3 separate regions of the Homo sapiens genome follow, and all the other regions are linked to region 2. Evidence: promoter capture Hi-C in human tissues and cell types (Jung and others, 2019). All regions are on one chromosome and are shown on one strand. The core of a region is centred on a gene start or on the middle of the fragment in contact, and the rest is flanking DNA. Distances in the headings are between cores, read along the strand shown.

Region 1 (3,812 bases), core at 1,237-3,736, 540 kb after region 2:
GGGGTCAGATCTGTTTCCAGTGACAGGCCAGAGTCAAAATCCTGTCGCATGAAGCTGAATGGATTCAGAAGCTTCTCCCCCACAACCCTCTTCCCCTCTCCTTGCCACACACTCACATGACTCCCCCAAAGCAAGAACTATCTCAAGTGGCAGCCTTTGGGGATAGAGAAAAATCTTTAGATTCCTTTATTAATTCCTTGGCCACCTCTCTGGCCTCCCAATGCTGACCAAGTCTAGCTCAGGTGTGTTTGTTTTGGAGCCCACAAGGCCTGGCCAGTGTGGCCGGTATAAAGCTGTCTGAAAAATACTTGCTTTTGATATTTTTAAGAAGGGCAAAAAGGAACACATTTAACCAGATTTCATTTCTTCAGCAGTTTGTGAGTTAGGATTGGCATGAGTTAGGAATATAATCATCCAGCCTGTGTCTGAAAGAATGCCGCCCTTTTCCAGTTTGCACAGCTTTCTTGCCTCTTGCTCGCCTTTATAAGCCACCCATCCTTGTTCCTGGAGGGGTGACAGCACTAAAGGAAACTTCTCACAATGAGTCCCACATGTCCCAGGACTCACCAGCCTGTGACAGCCAAACAGGGTGCGTCTCCTTCTTATTCCCAAAATATTATGGCCAAAGTCCCTCCTGGCTTTACTGCTGGAAATTAATCCACTCCCATCAAAGCAAGTCCCCAGACTGTACCCAGAAGTCTCTTCAAGCACTGCCTCCAAGCACTGCTCTGGAGCGCCTGCCTGAGGCCCTTCCCCTCTGTCTTCCTTATCTGCTCTCGTGCTATAGGGGCTGCTGCCTGCTGGGCACGCTATCCTCTAATGGTGCCATTGCTGGTGGCTGCTACCAAGCCTCAAAGACCCTGTGGCCCTGGCGATGGCATCTGACTAGGTGAGGCAAACTTGAACAAGGTACTGTTGGAGGCTTAAGCTTAAAAGAAATGCTTCTTGGAGAGCAGCTGAAAGCTCCTTCTGGTTTCTTGGAGGGCTTTGACCCATAGGCTTCCAGCCTCATTCATGGAGGCTTCCACACACCCTCAGGCAGGCCTGCTCCAAGAAAAACCTGCAGTGGACACAGGGCCCAACAGCCTATTTGTATGTTCACTTTCTCCAGAGCACTGCCTGGACCCATAGCTCTCACAAGATAGTTTATAGCAGTTTGTTTTCCAAAACTCTGGGCCATTCAGTCTTCAATGACACAAGCATGTCATCAGTCAAGGTGGGACTCCCCCCAGTGACCAACAACTTGTTCCATCTTTCCTCAAAAGCAGCGTTTCTCAATGGGGGTGCCATTGGCCTGATGAGACAGGCGGTTCTTTAGTCGCAGGACCCGGCTCAGCTCACTCAGTACAAAAGTGTCTTTCCCTCATTGTTGTGACCACTATTGAGTACCTGGATGAAAGTCTCCATTCACATGTGAGGTGGGGACAAGATCAGACCTACATATTCATCCCACCGTTGACTGCCCACTGTTCCCAAAGAGCTACAGCAGGTGCTTGGACAAGGACACATCCACATCATCTGTATTAGTCAGGGTTCTCCAGAAAAACAGAGCCAAAAGGATGTGCATAGATACAGAGAGAGAGAGATTTATTTTGAGGCATTGGCTCATGAGATTGTAGGGGCTGGCAAGTTCAACTCGAACAGGGCAAGCCTATAAGCTGGAGAGCCAAAGAAGAGTTGATGTTGCAGGTCAAGTCCAAAGGCAGTCTGGAGGCACAATTCATTCTGCTCTGGAGGACTTCAGTCTTTTTTCTCTTAAGGCCTTTAACTGACTGGGTGAGGCCCACTCCCATTATGGATGGTAATCTATTTTTCTTGAAGGCTACTGATTTAAACATTAACCACATCTAAAAGCAACCTCTAGACTAGTGTTTAAGCAAACATCTGAGCACTGTAGCCTATACGCTTTGACATATAAAACTAACCATCACAACATCCAAAGTACAAGCATTACTTTTTAGGCATAGATAAACTGTATGAAGATATTTTTTAATCTCTAGCTCTGCAAACCTATAGTTCTGCTAAAGAAGCACCCGATCTGTGTTTCTGAAGACAGAATACTAAATAGAACATCTAACTCTTACTTAGAAGCACCTACCTGCATTTGGGTTATTTCATTTTTAGAGCTTCCCCCAAAATAATGGTGTATCTTTACCTTACATGTACAAACCTCAAATGCCCCATTAAAATGATTAGCTTGTCTCCAACAGAGCCATGTTTTTCTCAAAGATAATATCCAGACTTTCTCATAGAAGGCAAAGGCTGCTCCTTATTCTGGAAATTTTACCTTCCCAAGTTCAAAGAATGTGAAGGTTTGGTCTCCTCCTGGCACCTGTTAGACCCTGGAGCAGCTGATGATCAATATGCTCCATTAGCTGAAATGAAATCAACTTCTGCTTCGATGAGGATTAGAAACAAGTGCTGTGCTCTGGGATGTACATTATCACATCTCCCACATTATAGGAAACAGTTATCCACCTGTCCCTAGCCACGAAGGAACTGAACATCCCTGTGATAGAAAAAGCCATAATTAAGGATTACGCCTTTATGTGAAAAGCAAGATTAAGTTTACAAGTAAACCTATAAAAGTCCCTACAAATATTTTTATATTCACCAAAACAAAACATTAAAACCAATACACTAAAGAATCATAATAACATTTCATTCATCATAATGGGCTCTGTATATTTAGCCTCCATTTACTATCCCTTGGACGCAGAAAATTTTTCAGGATCTCTCTCCCCTAAAGATTCAACCTGAAGCTTGTAAATTATTTTTATCTTTGCATATTGTGGCAATTCCCTCTCCATCTCTGTTTTTCTTCTCTCTGGGTATTCACTGCCTTCCTGATATTAGCCCTTGGAATTGTTGACTCCCCAGAGACACAGCACCCAAAATCGTGCCATCAGCCCTTCTTACACACCTTCTGATTTCCCGCTCCCCCTGCTCACTCATTTTGTTGGCTGAAGAAGTGTAGTTCTCGGGCCATGTGTACTGCAGCTTCCCTCATCTCCCAAAGCTTCACTGCAAAAACCTCTCATTTGGTTATGTTGTCTGCTTTGCCTCTTTTTTCTAGTCCTAACTCCCTAGATTTCCTTATTATGCATTATCCCCAAAATGACCAGCTTATATCCACCAGGACTGAGATCGGTAAGAAACAGAGCCATGCGTACTGGAATTTCAGGCAGGCAGAACTCAAGTTCAGGGAGGGGGAAACGATGTTCTTCCTGAAATATGTCACTCCTGAAAAGCACCGTCTGTAAAATGGTGGGATGTCCATCTCCACCTCTCTCCTTCCTCTTTCCTCTTTGAAAATATTTAGCCTCAGAGGAAACAAAAGGAGAAAGAGCTCTGGTGTTATTTTTCTGGAATAAAATAAAGTAAAATAACGGGATGGGGATAGAAATCATCCCAGGCTCTGAAAACAGAACCATTACCACCAGCATTTCAAGCAAGCTTTTTAAAAAGTCATTTACTTCCAATTACAGAAATCAATCATATTTGACTATAACGGAATATGGAAGACCCCATTACTAACTAAAGTGATGGTGAATTTGAGGGTAAATAACTGATCAGAAGGGAGAAGGTTTAGTAAAGATAAACTAAATTTGTAAAAAGTTGGAGTCAGCGAGTGCTGAAAGGTCACAGCTCTGCTTTGTGAAACCCTGATTTGGACAATTGCAAGGACATGTGACTGTCCCCCCTTCCTCCCCACCGAGGCGGAGAGAGGCACTTCAGCAAAGTCTGCTGGGCCCACGATAACTTGTTAATTTAGGCCTGAAAGATGCTTTTCTAAAAGGGAACAGGGGAAA
Region 2 (4,028 bases), core at 10-2,509:
TTGTCTCATCAGTTTCAAACACACCCCAGATACACTTTCATCCCCTACAATATATTTTCTGAATTTTGAGTATCATTGTGAGAAATTCACATTGAATCTAAGGCTAAAATCATCTCAGCTTTTCTGACAGTCCCACTGCACTTGTAAAAGTCAGTTATATTCAGTTATTTTTTCCTCTCCCACTATTCGGTCAATTCTTCAAGATCAGGAGCTATATTCCCACTTCCTAAGCATGCACTTGGCAGCTGTATGTTCCAGCCGGTGTTTTATTCTTGCAATTCCACAGGGACAGGGTTTTGGATACAACAGGCTGGTTTGAGCATAATTATTCTTAGTACATAAGCTCATTATTGTGTGTGTTATCCAAAATCTTAAAGGACTACAGCACTCTGCTTTTTATAGAGAGGAAGAGGCACACCCCACCATTCCTAACACATACTGAATCTTGACTGAATGACTGTAGAAAGCAGATTGCCCTGGGTTTGAAACCCACTATCAGCTGTGTGACTTCGAGAAAATTACCTGGTCTCTCTAAGCCTCAATGTCCTCAGTTGCAAAAAGGACATTCTATTCATACCAGGATTGTTTTAAATAACATTTAGCATGGTGCTTGGTGTATAAGAAGCATTTCAAAAATGTTGTCCACTCATTCTGTGACTTCTCATATACTCTTGCCTTCTCCACGAAAAAAAAAAAAAAAAAAAAGATTGTTAATATCCTTTTGGGGCACAACTGGAGAAGTGTATCTTGAAAGACCTAACTGACCGTTTTACAACCACAATCTGCACTATGGTGCACTGAGTGATGTGAGTCATGCAAGTGTAGGCTAAATCTTTTTATTTAGAATGTTGATATTTCACGGACTTCTGAAAATTTATTACGATTTTTTGAAATATTACATTAAAAAATTACTTACTTTGATAACCGCAGTTTACCTGGCACCCTCTTAAATTTTGCATCCAAGGCAGTGCCTCATTCGTTTGGCCCTTGTCCTGTCCTGCCTACTGTCACACCACGACCTAAATCTGAGACTAGAGCAGCCAGAAAAACTGGAAGGAAAAGAACCCCGTTCCTTACCTGAGTTTACCCTTCTGCCCTAGAGCGCTACCCCGGCCCAGGAAAGTGGGCACAGGGAGCGTACTACAGCTCCCACAAGGCCACGCGGGACTGCGTCCTCGCCTATTGGCTGCGCGGGTCCCGCCCTCCCCCTGCCCCTCCCCGCCCTTGCTGGGATGACCCCGGGGGCGAGTGCCCGGCCAGTGTGCTCCCGAAGCGGGCTGCGGTTCCGCTCGTATCAGGCTTCATGGCGGCGCGGCCACTGTCCCGGATGCTGCGGCGGCTTCTGAGGTCCAGCGCCCGGAGCTGCAGCTCAGGGGCTCCGGTGACCCAGCCCTGCCCCGGGGAGTCCGCGCGAGCTGCCTCGGAGGTGAGCCCACCCCGCCTGCGTCCACAGCTTCCCGGGGCAGGAGTGGCCCCGGCACACTGCCCTTTTCCCCCAGTAGCTCCCGGCCTATCTGCTTGACCGCTTCTGGGAGGGACCCGTTGGCACTCCTCAGTGGAGCGATGTTCTCCAGATGGACCGCCCGGTCTCACCCGCTAGCCCAGCGGGAGAGGTTCCTGGGAGTCCCGCTTCAGAACCTCCCTGCCCCCCAGCCACGCCACCCCTTCTAGCCCTGAGCTTGGCCAGAAATTCGGGTAAGCAGAGGACTGGGACTTTGGGTCCAGTGAGGTGTCTTAGTACCTTTCAGCCTTGCCTTGCACCCACCCTCTTTCTTAAACATTTTCCCTCCCTATCCCAAGAGCTGAGAGATCAGGTGTCCCTGTGACACCTGCTTCATAGTGCGACTGACTAAACATGTCACCTCGGTGTCACCAACGATGAGTTGTTACTGTAGTCCCAGGGCTCTGTAACCCATCCTTTGCTGACTCTCCTTGTCTTTTTTATTAACCTTGGGAGGGTTCAGCCTTATCCTAGAGCAGAACAGGGCAGGACGTGGCTTCTTCCAGGTGAGAAATTAATTCCTCTGTCTTTAGGGTTTTGGGTAAGATCCCTCAGTCCTTGCCAGCACCCCTCAGAGTGTTTCAAGTCATTAAAAGTTTTAGGTTTTGGTTGTTCTTCTGCTCAGGTGGTTAGGGAATAATTTGGGGGGAAAAGTACCTCTTTTCATTTAGTGAAACCTCTTTTCGGTACCTATCTAGGCGTTTTTTTCCCCGTCTCCCAGAACTAGGCTTCCTGTCCTGGGATTCATAAGATCACTGCTCCCTCCTCCCCTATATTGCTCAATGACTTCCGCCAAATTTGCTTTCCCCAAATCTAAGCCCCTCTGGGATCCTCAGATAAGCAGGCCCATGGTTGGGAAGTGAAGACTTTTTAGTATCCTCAAACTCTGAACATCATTGAGGAAGAGATAGGAAAGCAAAGATGGCTGAGAGATCTTTAAAGAATTCAAGAAAAGGGACTTTTCTTCTCCAGCCCCCCACCCCCTAGTTTATTTTGTACTGGTCTTTCATGAGAGAACCTGTGTTGAGTGACTCACATGTGGAAGCATTTAGTCCTCACTAAGCCATGTGAGGTGAGTAGAGTTTGTATGTTCAGATGAGGGGGCTAATCTAAGTTAACTTTCCTCCAGTCGCAGAGCTGTAGAGGGCAGGAACTCAACTCTAATGCTTTTCCGTCCTCCCTGTGTGGAGGCCAGGGAGAGAGCCTGCTCCTATCCATCCCTTTACACTGTGAAGGGAGGGGTAATGTGGCAGAAAGGAGAACATAGACTCTGGGGCAGCCCCATCCCTTATTAGGGATTCACCAAGTCCCCTTACCTCTCAGTGTCTGTTTTCTCATCTGCAAAGTAAGAATAAAAGTGTCTACTTCATAGGATGTCACAGGGATTAAAAGAGTTAACGTATGTTAACGTATATACTTAGAACAAAGCTTAGCCCATGTAAGTGCTGTGTTATGTAAATGTTGGTGGTAATTACTATTATCCATGCTGCCACTGGCACATGCTCTGTCCTGTGAGTCCCCTCCCATCTGGACTTGTTGGATAGCTATTCTGTCAACTCACATTGAATCCTGGACATCTCATTAGGATTATCTTCAGCAGACTGGGAGTTCCTGAGGGCTGGGTGCACCTCCGCCTTTCTATCCCCACAAGCGCTTAACGCAGGGTTGTGCAGGCAGTGGATTCAGCCAATAATTGTAGCTGCTTGAAACTTAACTAGTGAGGAGTCACGTGGCATAGTAGACCACACTGGACAGGGAGTCCCATGTTTTCACCCGCCAGTTTCGCCTCCAATTTCACCTGGCTCCTGGGGCTGTCACTTCCCTTTGCTTCATGTTTATAAAATGAGAGGACTGGGCCAGCCCATCATAAGATGGGGGAGGGCACAGAAACTTGTCTTGAGGAGACTCTAAGGGGAGGTGAGTCTGGAAATGGATATGTTCTGCTCATCTCCAGAGCTTGCCAGTTGGGGTGGGGACACCTTGAACCCCTTCTTGCAGGGTCTGTCTCCCCCAACACGCCCACACAGGGCTCTGGTAGTCTGGTTTGGGATGGGAGGTGCTTGGAGAGCTAGGATGGAAAGCCACTGGGCATTGTTTGTGTGGCAGGATGAGGGTGTGAGGGAGAGAAGTGAGGTTAAGTGGGAGCTGGCTGTGAGGATTGCGGAAAGGGGGCTGTGGGCTGAGTCCAAGAACAGGTCGAGTAGCTTCTAGCTATGGAAAGGAGTAGTGTGTGGGTCAATGGGGAGGTGGGTGGGGGAGACACAGCAACCTGCCAGCCTGCATCTGGGGTGGCCCAGACAATCTTTGTAGGGTTCAGCCTAGCCTGGGAGTGCTGTATCCCTCTTTCTCCCTCTGAGGCTCCATGCAGGCTTTGTTGGGCAACAATGAAGCCTGCTGCCTGTGGCGGGGGAAGCAGGGAGGGTGAGTCTAGGCAAGGCAAAGGCACCCATCTGTTCAGGGGGCCAGAAAAAACAAATGCTGGCTAGGGGTTAGGCTGCAAGGAAGTGGGTGTGGGTGAAGGTAGAAG
Region 3 (3,979 bases), core at 327-2,826, 510 kb after region 2:
CCTCCTGTCCACAGTCCCAGGCCAAGCAGACAGATTTGGAAAATAGCAATGACATAATTCACACTTCTTTTCCATCCAACACAGAGCAGTCGTGGCACTCTGGCCTTTGCTTTTGTTGTTCCCCTGCCTGGAATGCCCTCCTCTGCTCACTTCCTCCAACACAATCCCAGTCAACTAAAGTGTTCAAGGATGAAACAATAGGATATCTGGGATTTGCCGGGATATTAGAGATGGGGAAGTGAGAAGAGAAGAGTGCGGAGGAGGAGGGGAAATAGTTGAAATAAAACTGGACAATTAATAAAATGTGATACTGGGTATGTTAGGGTTCATTCTACTATCCTGTGTATATTTGGAAATTTTCATAATAAAACATTTTCTAAAAACTCCTGTGGATCCACAAAACCCAGGTCACTCCCACCTTGTACATGAAGCTTTCCTGACAGCTCTCCGCTCACTCGTGGACAGGCCACTCCCTAGTCAAACGCTAATGGCATGACTAGCCCCGCCAAGGTACAGCCATTTAATTCAGCTATCTATTAGGTGCTTGCTTTCATAGGCTTTCAATTGTCTCTTTAACTTCATGGCAGAAAGGAGAGGAGGGAAAGCAACTAACATTTCATGAGGGCCCACTATGTATAGGGACTGAACTACATGTTCTCACATAGGCCATGTCCTGTCTGCTTCTCTAGCGCAAAGTTGGCTCATCGTGGGTGTCTCAAACATAGGCCAGAAACATAAAGGAATCACTCACTAAACATTAGCACAGCAATCTAGTAGACTAGCATGAAGCCATCAAAGGTATGCATCTCATAATACAGGGAAGGACTTATGTTACAATGCTAAGTGAAAAAAAAACATCGGGGCACAAAATCATATCTGTATTATGATCCCAACCCTATAAAAACTGGCTCTATAAAAGACGGGGTGGATACGTGTATCCAATGTGCTTATTTCTGGGTAGAGGAGTACTTGAGAATTTTTTTCTTGTTTTTGTATTTTCAAAATCTGGCTTAATAACGGTATATAACAGGAATCAGCAAACTTCTTCTATAAAGGGTGAGGTAGAAAATATTTTCAGCCCTGTAGGCCACGCAGTCTCTGTCACATCTAGTCGACTCTGTCTTGTAGCGTGAAAGCAGCCACAGAAAATGCGTCAGTGAATAGGAGTGGCGGTGTTCCAGGGCAACTTTATTTACAGAAACAGGCAGCAGGCCAGATTTGTCTCATAACCAGCCATAGTTTTACAACCTCTGATATATTATTTTATAATCAGAAAAAAGTTATGTAAGTATATATTCTTTGGTTATAAGATCTTGGTATCATAATCAATAGAACACAGCACAGAAACCTTACAGCCAGGCTTTATTCTGATATCTTTGCATCATGAAATAATATAAATTAAAAGTCATAAATGAGAGACTATGAGAATACAAATTCTGTGCTGGATAGAGTAAAAATTAACAATACCTATAATTAATACCAATTTTCTCTCTATTTTTAAGCCTAATATATTTTACTTATTTAGATTTTTCTTTTGTGTCTTTCAATAAAGTTTCATCATATTTTAGTGACCTCTAAGAAATCTATTATTTTTAAAACATCTTGTAGGATGAACAGAAAAACTACAATTTTCATTTTTTTCCCCTCCAGATTTTCTGAAGCCAAGGCCCTGGGAGAAAGTATAAATGAAGCAAGAAGTAAAATTGGTAAGCAGATGATATTCTGTGAGCCTCTTTCAGAAACCATTTTCCTGGTGAAAATCAGGTCATGATGTGCCTCCAAATGGCCATGAAGCCCCAAATGGCCAGTTTCAGGAGAGCCCCTGCCAAGGAAGCTGCTTTGAGAGCCTTCCCTAGGAAGTGTGTGATCCCTCCCACCACCCAGCAGGAAAAGCACTTTCTTTTGTCTAGAACTTGAACTTTTCATCCTCAGGCAGACCTGAGCTCCAGCATCCCAATCAGAGAGTTGTGCTTTTCCCTGGTGTTTTTCAGCAGTAGCTCAGCTAATCATAACTTCACGGTTACAGTGAGACGTCATTTCGTATTTCAAGTATGGGGAAACACTCTTACACCTCCCAAAGCTTCTGCTTAGCATATTTGGCACAGGTATGATATTTTAGCATCAGTCAATAAGCTGGTGGAAGGATAAGAAGCAAAAACAAGCCATCGTGCCTTCCCAAGGTGGAGGCTGCCACGGAGGGCTCCCCACTTAGGTGAGTACCCCTGCAAAGGTGAAGTTAAGGCAAGAGGCAACTCAGTAAAATGTGCCTCGAATTCTCTTTTTTTTTTTTTTTTTTTTTTGAGACAGAGTCTCACTCTGTTGCCCAGGCTGGAGTGCAGTGGCGTGATCTCAGCTCACTGCAACCTCCACCTCCCAGGTTCAAGTGATTCTCCTGCCTCAGCTTCCCATGTGACTGGGACTATGGGTGCATGCCATCACACCCAGCTAATTTTTGTGATTTTAGTAGAGATGGGGTTTCACCACGTTGGCTAGGCTGGTCTCGAACTCCTGACCTCAAGTGATCCACCCACCTCGGCCTCCCAAAGTGCTGGGACTACAGGTGGTGAGCCACCACACCCAGCCTCAAATCCTTTTAAAAGTAAGAGGACAATGTTTTTTTCATCCCAAACTAAAAGATACCACAGAGACCCATCTCCCAGGCCCAGGGCAGCTTCACAGAGGCGATCCCTGTGCCTCACCTCTGTGCTGGAGAAGGCAGCAGTTACTGGCTCACAGCTGGCCCGCTGGGTCTCTCTTACTACCCCCTTTTCTCCGCCTACAAGTGAGGACAGGACAGAAGCCACTGTGAGTGCCCCCTTTAATTTTTCTAACAGAATATAAAAATCACGATAGCCTCAGTTTGTCTCGGTCGGTAAACAGGAGCCCCACAGTCCCCTCTGTGGCCTGAGACAGAAGGGGCTGAGGCAGCCAGACCCAGAGACACAGCCAACAGCCACACTCAGAATCCTTGTGTCTCAGGAGTTCTTGACCTAAGGTCCAGGATCTTGATAGGAGAGAAATGCCCCTGTATTTCTACTAACCTCTAACTGAAACTTAGCACCACCTCAATGATGAACCCAGTGGAAGTCACAGAGGCCTGCATGTCATATCACAGAGGGGCAGACGTTGTAAAATATCTTTTGTGCTATCAGTACAAAATTACAGTGGTTATTAGACTCACCATTAGATCTTTTTATTTAATACATTTATATAAAAGTACATAGATATTTCTGTATCACAAAAGGTTTTACAATTTTGATAACTATTTCAATATAATTGGTTTATCTTAAAAGCCTGCGTATTTTAATTTATGCACCAAATTATTATCCTGAGAAGGGGTCCGTAAGGTCATCAGACTGCCAGAAGATCGCTGGCACAAAAAAAGATTTCAAACCCCTTTCTTGACCTGGATTCCTGAACATCCTAAAACTGCATGAGAAAAACTGGGAGTTAGGAATGTTTGTATTTTTCTGAAGATTATGTCCATCCATAGCTCATCTGATTCTCAGAGGGCCCAGTCACCCACACCAATAAGGAAATTGATCCTAGGCTGATCTCCTTCAGGTGGGAAGGCAGACACTCTGCTGGGGGGCATCCCAGTCCCAGACAGTGGGCAGTGATAGTCTACTTGGCTTGAAGGGGAGAAGGAGGGAAAGAGGAAGCTGACTTCAGTGGAGCCAGGGCCAATTTGTCAGCATCCTCTTACCTCAAGGGACCCAGTGGTCTGTTTTCATCCTTGGAGGGATAAGAGAGAAGACCTTTTATAAACTGTTTCTCCCTAAGAAATAATATAAACTTTTGCTCTTAAAAAATATCTTACTCTGTAAACCAAAATAAAACCGTTCCAACATTAATGAAATAGACTAATGATGGAAGGCACCAATTGACTATACTAATATACTTAGTTTTTTCACTCTGAGTACAATGGAAATAACTACAAATTCCCCATAACTGTGGTGCAATCGTGTATGTTGGTGGA

What was found. Contacts are between HindIII fragments. The study calls those that stand out against the background at their distance.
Region 1: a fragment that was not itself captured here is called in contact with the fragment with the promoter of MOCS1 in region 2 in 2 of the 25 tissues and cell types used here (dorsolateral prefrontal cortex and pancreas).
Region 3: a fragment that was not itself captured here is called in contact with the fragment with the promoter of MOCS1 in region 2 in 1 of the 25 tissues and cell types used here (spleen).

Annotation. Positions count from the first base shown.
Region 1 is chr6:39,396,932-39,400,743 of GRCh38, reverse strand. The region is part of intron 15 of KIF6 (kinesin family member 6); the gene reads left to right. Among named protein-coding and RNA genes, the nearest start is that of KCNK16, 76 kb to the right of the region's middle. The HindIII fragment of the contact is 3,972 bases long and covers 501-3,812 here.
Region 2 is chr6:39,931,693-39,935,720 of GRCh38, reverse strand. It overlaps MOCS1 (molybdenum cofactor synthesis 1), which reads left to right and starts at 1,259. Exons shown (of 11, transcript NM_001358530.2): 1 at 1,259-1,426. The coding sequence starts at 1,304. It overlaps LOC102723789 (a long non-coding RNA gene), which reads right to left and starts at 1,152. Exons shown (of 6, transcript XR_001744112.1): 1 at 1,078-1,152. The HindIII fragment of the contact is 11,059 bases long and covers 1-4,028 here.
Region 3 is chr6:39,417,675-39,421,653 of GRCh38, reverse strand. It overlaps KIF6 (kinesin family member 6), which reads left to right. Exons shown (of 23, transcript NM_145027.6): 15 at 1,651-1,706. Among named protein-coding and RNA genes, the nearest start is that of KCNK16, 97 kb to the right of the region's middle. The HindIII fragment of the contact is 3,152 bases long and covers 1-3,152 here.